Linked DNA regions of Homo sapiens: region 1 is linked to region 2. Evidence: promoter capture Hi-C in human tissues and cell types (Jung and others, 2019). All regions are on one chromosome and are shown on one strand. The core of a region is centred on a gene start or on the middle of the fragment in contact, and the rest is flanking DNA. Distances in the headings are between cores, read along the strand shown. Region 1 has its middle 17 kb from the start of PI3. Region 2 holds the start of KCNS1 (potassium voltage-gated channel modifier subfamily S member 1).

Evidence for each region. Contacts are between HindIII fragments. The study calls those that stand out against the background at their distance.
Region 1: a contact is called between a fragment that was not itself captured here and the fragment with the promoter of KCNS1 in region 2, in 1 of the 25 tissues and cell types used here (spleen).

Annotation. Positions count from the first base shown.
Region 1 is chr20:45,155,986-45,158,955 of GRCh38, forward strand. No RefSeq gene overlaps it. Among named protein-coding and RNA genes, the nearest start is that of PI3, 17 kb to the right of the region's middle. The HindIII fragment of the contact is 6,370 bases long and covers 1-2,970 here.
Region 2 is chr20:45,099,180-45,102,544 of GRCh38, forward strand. KCNS1 (potassium voltage-gated channel modifier subfamily S member 1) reads right to left here and starts at 1,948. Exons shown (of 4, transcript NM_001322799.2): 1 at 1,742-1,948; 2 at 1-60. The coding sequence starts at 57. The HindIII fragment of the contact is 6,202 bases long and covers 1-3,365 here.

The DNA of each region.
Region 1 (2,970 bases), core at 181-2,680, 56 kb after region 2:
GGGAACCTTTGCCTAGATTTCAGAGGATGTATGGAAATGTCTGGATGTCCAGGCAGAAGTTTGCTTCAGGAGCAGGGCCATCATGGAGAACCTCTGCTAGGGCAGTGTGGAAGGGAAATATGAGATCAGAGTCCCCACACAGAGTCCCCACTGGGTCACTGCCTAATGGAGCTGTGAGAAGAGGGCCACCATCCTGCAGACCCCAGAATGGTAGATCCACTGACAGCTTGCAATGTGCACCTTGAGAAGCCACAGACAATGCCAGCCCATGAAAGAAGCCTGGAGGGGGGCTGTACCCTGCAAAGCCACAGGGACAGAGCTGCCCAAGGCTGTGGAGCTCACCTTTTGCATCAGCGTGACCTGGATGTGAGACATGGAGTCAAAAGAGATTATTTTGGAATTTGAAGATTTAATTACTGCCTCATTGGATCTTGGACTTGCATGGAGCCTGTAGCCCCTTTGTTTTGGCCAACTCATCCCATTTCCAATGGGTGTATTTACCCAATACCTGTACCCCCATTGTATCTAGGAAGTAACTAAGTTGCTTTTGATTTTACAGGCTGATAGGTGGAAGGGACTTAATTTGTCTCAGATGAAACTTCGGACTTGGACTTTTGGGTTAATGCTAGAATAAATCAAGATGTTGGGGGACTACTGGAATGGCATAATTGTGTTTTGAAATGTGAGGACATGAGATTTGGGAGGGGCCGGGGCAGAATGCTATGGTTTGGCTGTGTCCCCACCCAAATCTCATCTTGAATTGTAGTTCCCATAATCTCCATGTGTCAAGGGAGGGACCCAGTGGGAGGTAATTGGATCATGGGGGTGGTTACTTCCAGGCTGGTCTCATGATAGTGAGTGAGTTCTCATGAGATCTGATGGTTTCATAAGGGACTTTTCCCCCTTTTGTTTGGCACTTCTCCTTCCTGCCAACAGAAGTGCCATCCTTTTTTTGGCACTTCCCCTTCCCATGGAAGGGGAAGAACGTGTTTACTTCCCCTTCCACAATGATTGTAAGTTTCCTGAGGCCTCCCCAGTCATGCAAAATGGTGAGTCAATTAAATCGCTTTCTTTATAAATTCCCCAGTCATTGGCAGTCCTTTATAGCAGTGTGAGAACAGACTAATACAGAATCAATTCAGAAACGTATGAGAAAATGTTAACAGAGAGATTGAATATAATTTTTGAAGATCAAACAGAATATTAGACCTGAAAAATGCAATGAATAAAATGAAAAAGATACAATTAAGAATGTCAAAGGCAGAATTGATCAAATAAAACAAATAAGAAAGAAAGGAAGAAAAAAGGCAAACAACAATAACAACAATAAAAATGCAGCTTCTTTTTCTTTTTTCCTTGGAAGGGGTTTATGACACACTCTTCCAGTGGCTACCTAGTGGCCTGGCTTCTAACTAACTTGCATTGGGGAGTTAAAGAAGCAGACAAGTGTTAACCTGAGAAGTAGATAGCCACTTTTCAAGCTTTCTTCTCCAGCTCACTGCAGTGATAATTAAGTCTATTAATTCCACCTGGAAGGAATTTGTTCACACATTTCACACATCAAGTGCCCCAACTTTTACAATTTCCACCTGAGGGAACTAATCCTCCTAGTTCTGGGAGTAGAGGAGACTGGAATGCATGTCTCTTCCAACCACAGTTAAAAAAAGTGACAGTTTTATATGGGCATGTGAGCACATCTGGGGTTACATCGCCCAGGAAGAGTAAGGAGAAGAGGTATAGAAAAACCCTGTCCCATTTTTCCCCAGAAAGTGTTTATGCCATGTATCAGTTGCCCCAAGTCAGACAGCTACCTCCTGAAGGACTCCTTAAACTTCTTAGCTCTGTGAACAGGGGGACAAGCATATTCTAGTCTTTCTAGATCATGGAACAAAAAAGTTGGTTTTAAATGGGAGTGCAACAAATTCCAGGGGCTACTCCCCCTTGAAGAAGTACAGAAAAGGAGCAAGAATGTGCAGCTCTTATTTTCTCTCCAGAAAGGGCTTACAGCACACTCTTCCTGTGGCTAAGTGATGGCCTAGCTATTAATGAACTTGCATTTGGGAGTTAATGGGGTAAACAAACAAGAGCCCTCTGACAGCCAGAGCAAGGGTTTGGCACTTCTTGAGACTTCCATCCAGCTTGCCCAATGATAAATCTAGGCTTACTCATTCTTCCTGGAAGGAGTTTGGCTATGGACCAAGTACTGCAAGTTTTATAGCTCTCACCAAATGGACTATCTCTTTAACAACTTAGCTGTGAGAGTCAATGGGGCTTTGTATTCCTGAGCTGCCCTAAACTACAGAAAACAAAGAAGTGGTTTTACAACAATTTCGTTCCAGAAGCTATCTGTCTATAGCAGAGGGTGTTATGATCAGAGGGTGCAGCATCAGTGTGAGCACAGCATTTCCCACGATCAGAGGGTGCAGCCTGAACAGGAGCACAGCATTTGCCACAGATTATCTCCCTGGCTTACTGCAAAGAGTTTTGGACCATAATGCCCATGCTCAGCTTCAGCGAAGATAGATGAAACTGGAACACACATTCATCATCCCAATCCTTTCAGTTACATTTAGAGAGTCAGGCTTCTACCTTAGCAGTCTCTGGGTACAGATAGGAGGAGGCACATCCTAAGCTCTATGGAGACATCAAAAACAGAGCCAGCAGTCTGAAAAAACACAAATATTTGAGAAGCATCTTAAAATCTCTGACCAGGTGGATTGGTGGAATTTTTTTTTCCTACAAAATCACAGTTTGACAGGACTGGAAGTTGTAGTTGTCTTATCTAATATGCAGAAATCAACACAAAGAGTCAAGAAAGACAAAGAAACATGGGAATATATAAGAACAAAACAAAACAAATAAATAAACCAAACAAAATCAGGAAGCCAGCCCAAATGAAATGGGGATATGTTATTTACCCAAAAGAGAATTAAAAATAATGATTATAAAGATGCTCAGCGAGGTCAGAAG
Region 2 (3,365 bases), core at 698-3,197:
CACCACTTTAGACCGGAGGTTCTCATAGTGTGTTCCCCGGACCAGCAGCATCAGCATCACCTGGGAATTTGTCAAAGATGCAAATTCTCAGCCTGCCATCGATTTACTGAATCGGGAACTCTAAGGGTGGGGTCTAGCACTTTGTGTTCTAACAAGATTGGAAAGTGATTCGGCTACATAGTCAAGTTTGAGAGCTCCTGCTTTAGATTATGTAAAGCATCTGTAGAGTCAGCCAGACCTGACCTTGAATCTTGACTCTCTTGTGTCACCTTAGGCAAGTAACATCACCTCTCTGAGCCTCTGTGAAATGGAAATAAAAATATTCACCTCAAAGTGTGGTTATGAAGATTAAATGACCTAGTGTCTTTCTTGGGCTTGGCTCACAGAAGGAATTTAATAAATTATTCACTGGTGTCACTATCTTCTGGAGTCAGGCAAACCTGGGTTTATCTCCACCCCTGACGCACCTGGGGCCTTGAGGAAGCTATTTGTCCTCCAGGTCTCAATTTCCTGCACAACGTAGATAATAGCACCTACCTCCAGGGATGACTGGAGGATTAAGGTAGATTATAGAAAGTGCTCAGCCTTAGTGGATACTCAGGAAGGATTTAGGTTCTTCCACTACCCACTGACTCCTGACTCTGCTGGAATTGGGGGCTAGTGACACCTCCTCACCACTGGCAATCTCATTTGCACTGTGGGTTCAGTAATGCCTAGACTAGGGATTAAGTGTGTGTAAAGCACCTGGGCTTGGCATTAAATGGATTTGGGGTTCCACCCTTAGCTCTATCACTTGTGTGACCTCAGGCCAGTCTCCTTCCCACTCTGGGCTTTAGCTCTTTTACCTCTAGAATGGGGATAATGTTGCTTTGGATGCATCATTATTGTGGTATATGTCAAAGCCCTGGGAAAACAGTAGATGCTCAATAAATGTTAATCCTGTGTACTTCCCTGTGGTCAGACCTGAGTCTACCACTTACTAGCTGCTGTCCTTGAGTGCATTCGTCGCCCTCTCTGGGCTTGTTTCCCTGTCTGTGGAACCGGGTAGCATCATACTTTCCAGGAGAGGCTCAGAGAATTAAATGATGCAAGGTGTTTATCGGCAGCATGGTCCCTGGCACATAATCAATGCACAATAAACGTGTGATGTAGCTCCGCTCCCACCTCCACTTGGATCTCCACCTGCATTTGGCATCAAAAAATGAAATTTCTAATCCAGTTCCATCACCCATTAGAAGCATAATATTGGGCAAATCCCTTCATCCATCAGGAGCTCACTTTCCTGCTCTATGAAACAGGATAATTAATTCAACAAACATTTTCTGACAAGAACCTGAATATCAGTAAGAAAGACCAAGTGACTTGTTCAAAATCACCCAGCTAGTCCATGGCACAGCTAAGGTTGGAGACCAGGTTTTTTTATTTCATTCTCTCTCCACACACTTATTTTGAGCACCTCCTATCTGCTAGTCACTCCTCTGGGCTCCATGCACACCTCACTCGGTTTAATCCCTACACCAACCCTGCCAGGGAGGTTTTCTAATCCCATTTTACAGATGAGCAAACTGTACCAGCCAGGGTCTCCAAAGCGCGGCCACCCCACACTGCTTCCTCCTTGGCGGGGGGTGGGGGGTCTCTTAGAGGGGGTAAGAGCACCAGGAGCCCCAGGCAGCCCCGCCTCCCACTCTGGCTGCCCGGGACCGTCCCGGAGCCACGTCCCTCCCCAAAGGAGGCCCCTTACCTGTGGTGGCACCTCCCGGGCGCCTCGCGTGTCTGTCCCAAAGCCACCGAGGCTGGGAGCCGCTGGCTATACTCGGTCTCGCCTCTGCCCCGCCGGCCCCGCCGAGCCTCCTGCTGCAGGCGGCCCCGCTGCCCTCTCCTTCCTTCTTCCTTGCCTAGTCCCCCGCGGCTGAAGGCCGCATCGATCGCTGCCGGAGGAGGGAGTGAGGCCGCTGGCGGCCGGAGGCGGCGGTTTCTATTCCTGACTCGGCTGGGGGGTGGTGGTGTCTGGAGACTGGGCCTACCTGCAGGGGCATCCTCCGGAGTTACGGGCCGGGAAGGAGGGGTCATTTAGGGCGTGAGGATTCCCCGTAGAGAGGGATTTCAGCAGAAGCTTCTCTGGCAAAGGAACAACAGTAATCATGATTTACTTAATTGAGTGTTTAGTATGTGCCAGGGTACTTCAGCTGCTGCAAGTGATTGATCTCAGTTATTCCTGGCACACACACTTGACAGGGCCAGGATCTTATGTCGCCCATTTTAGGGGTGAGCTCCAGTCATTTTCTCAGACCGTGGGCATCTGAGTTAGGGAGCTGTAGAAGGTGGCCTCATCTCCCTTGGAGCCCCAGGTTCTTCCTAGGTGAGTTGTGAAGCTTGAAACGATCATTTTACCCCTGAGGCGCAGTGTCCTTACCTGCCCACGGGTTCCTGATTCCCACCTGCCAAGTGGGTTGTGAGGGCAGAGAACATGTGCCAAAGAGCTTTGTAGAGGTTGTGAAATCCCCACACATGTACCTGTTGTGTGGCTGCTGTGTGCCTGGTTGGGGAGAGGCTCCTGGAGACTAGGGCCTGGATATGAGCCTTTGCACATATTGTTATTAATAATAATGATAATTACCAACGTTTATTGAGTACTTACCTTGGGTCAAGCACAGACCTCAATCTCACTCAAACTGCAAATTTATCTGTGGGGTAAGTGCTACTATTATTCCTATCTCACAGATAAGAACTGCTTTGAGAGGTGTGGTGACTTGCCGGAGGTCCCATGGCTGACTTCTGAGTCCTCTAGGCCAGCACAGTCCAACACCTATAATGTGAGCCACATATATAATTTTATTTTATTTTATTTTTGATTTTTTGAGATAGAGTCTCACTCACTCTGTTGCAGGCTGGAGTGCAGTGGCACAATCTTGGCTCACTGCAACCTCCGCCTCCTGGGTTCAAGCGATTCTCCTGCCTCAGCCTCCTGAGTAGCTGGGATTACAGGCATGCACCACCATGCCCAGCTAATTTTTGTATTTTTAGTACAGAAGGGGTTTCACCATGTTGGCCAGGCTGGTCTTGAACTCCTGGCCTCAAATGATCCACCTGCCTTGGCCTCACAAAATGCTGAGATTACAGGCATGAGCCACCGCGTCCGGCCCACATATGTCCTTTTACATTTCTGATTGCAACATTTTAAAGAAGTAAAAAACAGGCGAAATTACAGTTACCCCTTAAACAGTGGGGGTTAGGGAAACCACTCCTCCATGCCTAGAAAATTAGAATATAACTTTTGACTCCCCTGAAACTTAACTAGTAATAACTTACTGTTCGCCAGAAACCTTACCAATAATATAAACAGTCGATTGACACATAAATAGTAT